Linked DNA regions of Homo sapiens: regions 1 and 2 are each linked to region 3. Evidence: promoter capture Hi-C in human tissues and cell types (Jung and others, 2019). All regions are on one chromosome and are shown on one strand. Each heading gives the region's core, a stretch centred on a gene start or on the middle of the fragment in contact. The rest is flanking DNA. Distances are from core to core; before and after follow the strand shown.

What was found. Contacts are between HindIII fragments. The study calls those that stand out against the background at their distance.
Region 1: a fragment that was not itself captured here is called in contact with the fragment with the promoter of DLK1 in region 3 in 2 of the 25 tissues and cell types used here (IMR-90 fibroblasts and neural progenitor cells).
Region 2: a contact is called between a fragment that was not itself captured here and the fragment with the promoter of DLK1 in region 3, in 3 of the 25 tissues and cell types used here (bladder, neural progenitor cells and thymus).

What each region holds. Positions count from the first base shown.
Region 1 is chr14:100,415,689-100,418,757 of GRCh38, reverse strand. All of the region lies in intron 2 of WDR25 (WD repeat domain 25), which reads right to left. Among named protein-coding and RNA genes, the nearest start is that of WDR25, 41 kb to the right of the region's middle. The HindIII fragment of the contact is 4,140 bases long and covers 1-3,069 here.
Region 2 is chr14:100,398,952-100,402,039 of GRCh38, reverse strand. All of the region lies in intron 2 of WDR25 (WD repeat domain 25), which reads right to left. Among named protein-coding and RNA genes, the nearest start is that of WDR25, 24 kb to the right of the region's middle. The HindIII fragment of the contact is 3,221 bases long and covers 1-3,032 here.
Region 3 is chr14:100,725,628-100,728,677 of GRCh38, reverse strand. It overlaps DLK1 (delta like non-canonical Notch ligand 1), which reads right to left and starts at 1,786. Exons shown (of 5, transcript NM_003836.7): 1 at 1,543-1,786; 2 at 219-282. The coding sequence starts at 1,609. The HindIII fragment of the contact is 15,317 bases long and covers 1-3,050 here.

The sequences.
Region 1 (3,069 bases), core at 284-2,783, 310 kb after region 3:
ACCCCAAACTCCCAGGGATGTCCCATAAACTCACCTTAGCATAGACCCTGACCGTTGTGGCTGAGACTGGCAGGCTGCACTACTGTGCTGTTGTGCAAATTTTTCACCTTTTTTTTTTTTTTGAGACGGAGTCTCGCTCAGTCGCCAGGCTAGAGTGCAGTGGCACAATCTTGGCTCACTGCAACCTCTACCTCCCGGGTTCAAGCAATTCTCCTGCCTCAGCCTCCCAAAAGTAGCTGGGACTTGTACAGGTGTGCACCACCACGCCCAGCTAATTTTTGTATTTTTAGTAGAGAAGGGGTTTCACCGTGTTGGCCAGGATGGTCTCCATCTCTTGACCTCGTGATCCGCCCACCTCGGCCTCCCAAAGTGCTGGGATTACAGGCATGAGCCACGGTGCCCGGCCAAATTTTTCACTTTCAATAGTTGCATGAAAGTCAGAAAGGCCAGTGCTAGGTGACATTGTGTGTATCATGTACAAAATCACAGGCAGTGTGGATATAAGACGTAAGAAGGCAGGGCACAGTGGCTCATGCCTGTTATCCCAGCACTTTGGGAGGCTGAGTGGGGGGTGTGGATCACGAGGTCAGGAGTTCGAAACCAGTCTGATCAACATGGTGAAACCACATCTCTACTAAAAGTACAAAAATTAGCCAGGCGTGGTGGTTGGTGCCTGTAATCCCAGCTACTCAGGAGGCTGAAGCAAGAGAATTGCTTGAACCCAGGAGGCAGAGGTTACAGTGAGCTGAGATGGTGCCACTGCACTCCAGCCTGGGCGACAGAGCGAGCCTCCGTCTCAAAAAAAAAAAAAAGACATAAGCAAACTAAGAACAACCTTCATGAGAACCTATGAGCACATGCACAAGAGCCTAAGTAGCCAGGCCAGGGCAGGAGGAACAGGGGCAGCATGACACGCCTGTCCACAACAGAAACGATGGAAGGCTAGGAACAGCTCAGGGTCACTGCAGCCAGGAAGAAGTCAGGCAGAAAATGCGATGTCAGCCCTGTGTCTGTCTTGCAGACCAATCACACAGTATCAAAGTAAGGGCGATTTGTGCAGCTGTATTCCTGACTCACTCTCCAGAGCCTCACTGGCAGAGACAACAAGGAAAAGGCTCGGTCTCTAGCACCCCCATCCGCAAGCAGAGGTAATGCTCAGGCAGCTCTCTCCCTCCCTGGAGGAGGAAGGTGACTCGCAGTAGCCTCAGAACTGGAAAGGGGAGCCACCAGGGAAGAGTGGCTGGAGCAACCAGCCTGGCTGCTCAGGGTCTTAACAGGATGGTGGGGGTTGGAAGGGGCACCTAGGTCATGGGAAAGAGCCTGGCCCCACACATGGCTCCATCTCCCTGCACCCTCGCCTGACCACCTTGGATCTGAGATACTCAGTCCCACAAATCCCTGAGTGGCTGGGAGACTGAGAAGTCTGCAAAGCATGTGGCATGTGCCAAGTGTCCTACTAAGCAGCTCCTCCAGGTACGGCTGCCTCTCTCCCTGAGCTAGTGTCAGCACCAGGCCTGGCACAGGAGACACGCACAAGTAACAGATGGTGAGGAGATGAGCGGAGGACTCTGGCCATGCCACACACAGCACAGCAACCCTAGGCCCATAGAGAAGGGAGGGGCAGGGCCCAGGCTCGGCTCACCAAAGCTTGGCCCCTGGCCTGTGGTAGTTGGATTGCCCCTGGAGGGACTCTTTCTCCCAAAGCCATATAATTCTGTTGAGTCACTAGTTTTCAGGAATACTGTGACTTCTGAATCATCCACGCAAGATCTCACCCCTGGGCTAAGATGGGCCTTCCAGACCAAGGTTTGTGAGGGTGACTCTCCCTGGGAAAGGTATTGACACATTTTCTCCTCAGTTCAAATCAAGTACCTCATGACTGTGAAGTTACTGGGTCCCATAAGTGAGCCCCAAGTGCCTGCTACAGAAAAGTACCCTACAGTCAGTAACGAGCACCAAGCTTCTCCCTGGGCATCTGGGGACGATGGTCCAGTGCTCCCTCCCCAGTGAGCCCAAAGACAGAACACTGCCGGGGCACAGCCCAGGTGCACATGGTGCTACAGCAACACAGGCCACACTGCCATTTATGCAGTCTGGAGACAAGGGAGAAAGGCAACCTCAAGGAATGGGTACAGAGAGAAGGGGACCCTTGAGCCAAGTCCAGGGGGATAAGGAAGACTTTGCCTGAAAAGAAGGAAGGAAAGGGAAAAGGCCTAAAAGGGTGTGTCATGTTTGGGAAAGAGCTGGAAAGAATTCAAGGCACACAGCAGGCAGTTTGTGATAGGAACAGAAATCGGGGCAGGGTGAATGGGCCGGTGACATGGGTTGGTTTGCATCCCGTACTGTTTGGGCTGCAACCTGTATTGTAGTATGAGGGCAAACAGCAAAGTTTTTACATCAAGGAATGACAATCAGAGTTGAGAATACGTAATAATAGAAATTACAACAGCAGTAGTCACAATTTGGGCATCTACGATTACCAGGAACTATACCAGGCACTTCCCTTGTACTGCCTCTTACTCTTAAAACAACCATGAAAATGAATACCCTTCACAGGGAGAAACCAAACGGCAGCGAGGAATGAGATGAATTTGATAAAGAACTACCTCTAAGTAGAGAAGTCACAACTCAGTGGCTGATTGGACAGCAGAGGCTGAATGACACGTGCTCTGTGAGGGCTAGAACCATATCTGGCTTCCCACTCTATCTGCTGCCCCTGGACCTGACACCTACTAGGTGCTCAGTAAAGATTCAGGTGGCAGTGCACTGACAGAGATGCAGAAGAAAAGAAGGACAGCGGCAGAGCAGGGAGGACACCAGCTGTGCCAATCGTGCTTGGCAACCAGAGGCACTGTCATGAACTGTGTGGGCTTTGAGACAGTACTCTGCTAGCAAACTACCAAGTTAGCCTGCCACAGCTTCATACATACTAGCAGAAGGCATGAGATCCCTGGGTCAGAGACTGAAAACAGTTTATTACTCACAGCAGTAGTAGTAGCCAGGGTAACACTGCTGCACCAGTTCCCTAAGCCCCAGTTCCCATAGCGATCCCATGAAGGCAAGGTGTTA
Region 2 (3,088 bases), core at 173-2,672, 330 kb after region 3:
CAGTAATAACTGGGTTTTAAAAGCCTCGCACGATTGAGCAAAAGTGCTTTGCAGCACTTCCTACTCCTTCATCAGCACCTGCTAATGCCAGTTGTACCCCAGGAGGTGCACCAAGGAGAATGTAACTGAGCCCCTCCAAAGTGTCCATGCTAAAAATCACATCCAAGCCCTCAAATTCCACAGAGAAAATGGCAAGTGCCTGCATACACAGAATGAGCAGAACTAAGACACGTGCAGAGCCACCCAGGAGCAGAGAAGCCAGGTGCAAGTTCCAGGGGATGAAGTGTCCTCCCCACTGCCTCTCAGGCTCTCTGGTACTTTTCCATTCCTCTGTATGAATATGTTTTTCTTCCTTTAGGATCAGAAACAAAGTAAAAAGAAGCCCAAAAAAGAAAAATGTCAACCAACAAATTCTCTCTGTAATTCTCTTACTACCACCAGAACCTGCTGGTACAAAGCACTGGGGAGGAAGAAGTGATCAATCCCCAGGCAGGGGAGCCTCCTGGAGGGGATCCAACCTGAGGCAGCCCTGAACGGCAAGGACTTGCCTCCTGGGGACATGGGCAGGGTGCTCAGGGCCACCCCTGCCAAGGAAGTCTAAGACACCGGGGAGGAGGCAGGGGACCAGCCTCCACGACACTCAGACCTCAATGGACAGAACTGGTCTGAGATGCCCGAATCAACCAGAGAAGGTGATAAGCAAGGAAATGCCTAATGAGGCAGTGCAAGGGGGATAGATGTGGACTGAGACCACGAGGAGGCCGGCAGAAGCAGAAACTGGGCCTCTCTGGCTCTGGCTCGGTGGGGCAGAGGCTGCAGCCACGGGGAGGGGGAGGTCTCTCCCGCCCCAGGAACAGCGAGCAGCCGCCGACGCGCCCCGGAGGCCCAGAGGAAATATTATTGTGAGACAAAAACTGAATTATGAAATCCGCAAGCAATAATTAGTTTAAATTACTACTTCTACTTGAATAATTAAACACGCTTATTTTCACTCACTGATGTTTTATTCATTACCATACATCTTTCTTGAAAATTGTTTTTAACGTGAACATTCTTTTATTTGCAAAGATCCCACAGAGATTTACTATGCTAATTTCAAACCTTTCTTCTAAAATAAAAACAATAACAAAAACACTCCTAGATTATCATCCATTAGTGACTACTGTGTGGGGTCCATTATCAACTTAAGTCATAGCAACTGGATGGAAATACTGTGGGTAGTTGTAAAGTTATTCACACACCAAAGCTTCCTCCCTTTAAAATTCACGACTGAAAGGGCAATATTTAAATAAGCGCAAAGTGATTATGAAAACAAAAAGACCCCAGTGCAGAAAGACCACTTAGCCACAGATGGAAAGTGCCTTTTGCTTTTTATCATGCCCTGTATTAATGAAAATGTTTTTGCATTTTCACAAATAATGTTTGAATTTTATAAGTCTTATTTTTACACACTGGAGCCAGGATACCCAGAAGCACAGTAATAAGGGCTTAAGGTTTTTATTAAACAAAGTTACCTTTGGGAATAAGTACTAACTTAAATATAATCCATGAACTAACTCTTCCTTGCTGGGCTATTAGCTGGTGCTGGCTGAATGGCAAAACTCCAAATCCTAGCTAATGCCAACAAGCTGGGCCTGAGTCAAACCCGGAAAGGTGCAGCAAGGCTGCCACCATCATAAACCAGCTCCACTGAGGACCAGGCGCCAACAGCCCTCCGAGGGGACCACAAAGCCCAGTTAATGTGCAGCCATGTGGGTTGTACGGCAGAACTGACAACAGCTGCACTCACTGGATCACCATGACAAGTATCAAGGAATGTCACTGCGGTACAGGACACACATGCCCCAGCTCTGTCACTTAAAAAGCCACTCCTCCAGAGGAGGAAATGTGCTTTTCACACTCCTGGTGCCCCACAGCACCTGACCCCATGTCTCAGAAATGGCCAGTCCTCACTGAACATTCATTGAATTAAGTATCTTTTTTAAGGCCTCAACTGTACTTCTCTTTCCCCCAAGTCCTTTAAAAGCAGTCATTCAGCCCAGTAATTCAACAAATGCATCTAACCCTCTCCCATGTGTAACTTAAGTTATTCCTGGAACCTGCAGCACCCGTACCCTCCTCATCTGGTATTTTTCCCTCAGTTAATGTAAGTAAATTCAAGTAAGTCTTTTTCACATGGTTGCACCCAGTCTTCTGGAGCCACAGGGAAGTAGATTACTCAAAATTTTGAAGTTTCAATTTTGAAATCAAAAATGACCATCTACTGAACAGAATGATGAGCTGTGGCATCAGCTTGGCCTTTGGAAAATGAAGGGACTCCAGAGGCCACAGGCCAGGGCTTAGCTGATTCTAGAAATCAATATTATCTGCGTCATCATCGTTAGAAGCATCCGGAAAGCAGAACAGAGCTTCTGCTGGGCTTCTGTTTCCGTGGCAACAGCTTCACTGGCCTGTTGCAGGGAAAGGCATAGAAGATGGGAATTGGCAAGAGAGAGCGAGAGGGGCACAGGGGGACGGAAAGGAGGAAATGCAAAGGAGAAAAGGCAGGCGGAGACAGGACCAGGTGCAAGGCCAAAGGAGAGCATAGTGAAAAAAGTACCGAAAAAGACATGAGAGAAAGGATGAGAGAGAAAGGAAAAGGGGGGAAATGCAAGAGAAGGAAGGGAAAGGAATGGAAGGAAACGTCCTAGGCTGGGACTTTTGTCGGAAAAATCACCTACAGATGTGCATCTATCGGTATGCAAAGCATGCTCTAGTTTCACTCATTAAATGCAACACATTTCAACTCAGTTACTGCCTCAAGACACACTCAATTATCCGATAAACCACAGGAAGGTTGTGTAAAAACATCAATGTGGTAAGCAGTCTAAATTCGAATTCTAGCTAATGTCAACATTAGCCCAAAAGGCTGGCTGGGTTAAATCCAGAAGGAGGAAAAAAGGAAGAAAAAAAAAAGAAAAAAGGAATGAGAAACCTGTTATCACTAAACAGCTACCATTAAGGACAAGTCACTAATGGCACTTTATAAGTGAGTGCTCTTTAAGCCTCATTAAGGTGCAAATCTTCTGCTTGTCTTGTTCATGATTGA
Region 3 (3,050 bases), core at 537-3,036:
CCTGCCCCCCCACCTCTGAGAACGCAGACAGGAGCTGTGGCTGCCCCCCCCCCGCCCCCCCCATCTCCCCAGCTCGCCCCACCAGTTTTCTGCAGGGGCCCGGAAGCTGTTTGCTGCAGCGTAGTGGCCAAGCCCCCTATTTTTTTCTGCCTGACTTCACGACTCCCCAGGCTTCTGCGTGGCCCCTACAAGCTGCCTCTGAGGAGCCACTCTATTACCTGCAAACATTGTCATCCTCGCAGAATCCATTTTGGGGGTTGCAGGCCGGGAAGCATTCAGCCCCTGAGGTACAAGAAAGGTTATACAATTCACCCCACCAGGCCCCAGGCCAAGGCAAAGGCTGTCTTCGCCCACACAGCCCACCACTGCCCTCGAGGGCACCAACAGCCCTCTTGGGTCCTACCAGCCTGGCACACAGTAGGCACTTCCTATCCGAGCATGGATGGGGCTCAGTGCACTCAGGAAAAACATCTCTGCCACGTTCCCAGCAATGAAATGACCACAGTACACTCTCCCTCGTTCTTAGGAGCAGGAGAAACACCTTCTCCTCGGACTCCCAAAAGCAAATACGACACCTCAAGTCCTCCTAACAGCGGGGACGGGGACCGTGGAGGGAAATATGTTGAGCCCTGGGCATGCAGCCTGACCGTCACTTTTGCAACCTGAGCTGAAAAGAGGAGCAGATTTTGAGGTGTTCAACTCCGGGAAAGCCCAGACAGGTTCACCTGGTGGGCGCCCCAGTAAGGCGTCTGCATTCTTTTTAAGGTTCATCCCTATTAAGCCGGGCACCCAGGTCAAATCTTCCCTCTTTCCCCTACCCCAGACTCTTCGCATTAAAAAAACGATGACGACACAGGGTTTTGCTTAGCGGGCTGAGGTTGCAACAACACTGCTTAGAGATTCTGACACTTTAACAGGCACCTACTGTGTGCATTTACTCAACCAGCTCCCCAGCTTTCTAGACAGCCCCCTTACAACCACTGGTGCAATGAGTGGGGGGGCGCTGCAGGAAGGGGGCAACTCTCTCGCTGTCAGAGACAGATGGCCGCTGCAGACAGAAGTGTCGCAGCCCCTCACCTACAGAAACGCGCCACGCAGGAAGGGCTCAGGCTGGGCTTCTCTGGGAATTGGGGGCTAAGACGGCAAAGTCGTCCCCCACTCCCGCCCCGAGACCTGTTCCAGAACGCTCACACAGGGACACCCCAAAGTTGCACCCCAGAGTATTTTCATAGAAGACTCCACAACAGCACCCCATTTTTCCATACCTCCTTGCTCAGCGCACCGACACCCCTCTGGCGCCACTTCTGCAGGGCGGGAAGGGGCTGGGGGTCTCACACATCCCCTGCGCCCTGGGACCCCTGGGACGGGCCTTGGCATGCGAGCGTGGTGGGTAGGGCGAGACAGGCACAGCGCGGGGCTTAGGGCTAGGCGGGACGGGCGGAGTTGGGGCTCACGAGACGGGGCGTGCGGGGCACCGGGCGGCCGGCGGGGAGTCGCAGGCTTCCCCAGAGGGGGCGCGAGCCGGGCCGCCGGGGAACTCACCATAGGTGCTGTGGCCGAAAGCCAGCAGGAGCAAGAGGACGCGCAGGAGGGCTTCGGTCGCGGTCATCTCTGGGCGGCCGGGGTCGCGGTCCCGGGAGCGGTGCGGGCGCGGGTCCGGCTCCTGGCGCCGCACTGGGCTTCTGGTTGCGGACGCGAAAGGGGGCGCGGGCGCGCAGCGAGGGGAAAGCCAGGGCTGCACCGGGCTGCGCGCTGCGCTCTCCACCGCCGCTGCCGGGGAGCTGCCGCCGCCGCCGCGCGCGCCGCCCTTTTCGTACCGCCTCCCCCCTCGCGGCCCCCGCCCCCCGCCCCCGCCTCCGTGCGCACGGGGCCGGCGCCGGCCAGTCCCTGTGACCCCCTCCCCTCGCAGGGCCGCCCCCGACCACGGCGGCGTCCCAGAAGCCCGCTCGCGCACACGGGTGCACTCTTGGCTAGACGGGCACAGGTATCCCGCGAGCGTTTGGTACACGTTCCCTCACACTGTACAGCACGCGGCCGCCGCGCACATACAGGCCTGCCTAGGACAAGTCGCAGGAATCGAACCTGGGCCGCAGACCTCCCCGGAGAGCACAAATCCGCACGCAGGAACACCGAAACACTTATCGCTGAAGTCCCGGGCACACGTGCAATGGTTAGATACCCAGGAAAACACAAAGGCGCACTATGAAGATGTGAACTAAGCACATAATTACACACGCACACAGAAAAACCCCCAGGAAAAGCCCGACGCCCCCTGTACCCCTGGCCATGAAGACGCAGAAAAATGCAGTTGCCCCGTGGCAACCCACACCCCGCAACGGAAACGCACACGGCAACTCAAACACACTGTAGCCCAGACGCCGTATAGACACAGTCCTAGGTGGCAGAGGGTCAAGCGGACCTGCGGTTACCCAACCATGGGCATCCTCCCCCATGTGCCGACCCCCTGCACACAGACGCTTACGCAGAGCCACCTGCACACCCAAACACGCAAACACACGTATAAACAGACGGACACCCGTGCCCGCATTCAGTCACACCCACCCCCGCACACACAGCATCTCAGTCAGGGCCTTAGCCGCGCTGAAACACAAATGCACCGACTCTTACGCACACATGTACGCACAGCCATGCACCTGATACCCACAAGCACACATACCCAGCTGACTCGTGGTCACACACACTGACAAAAACATATACGCAGTCCCCACACACACACGATCGCATCTGTCTTTGTCCACAGTGGCATGCATGGGCAGCCTCACCAATGTGCTCTCACATACACACAATAGCACTCCAGGCACTCGGCACGTATTCCAGACTCACTGGGAGACCTTCTCTGAGGGGTCGCCCGCTGGAGAGGTGGAGGTAGAGGATGCTGATTGCCAGAGACCCTCTTCCTCTGCAGAGCTCCCAGGGAGAGGGAGTGCTCCTCAGACACCCCTCCTCCCCATTGCCCCCGGCTTAGGCTTAGAGCCCTGCTGGAGAGGAAAGCTCTGCACCCCTGCACCCAGTCTGGATGGGGGAGGCTC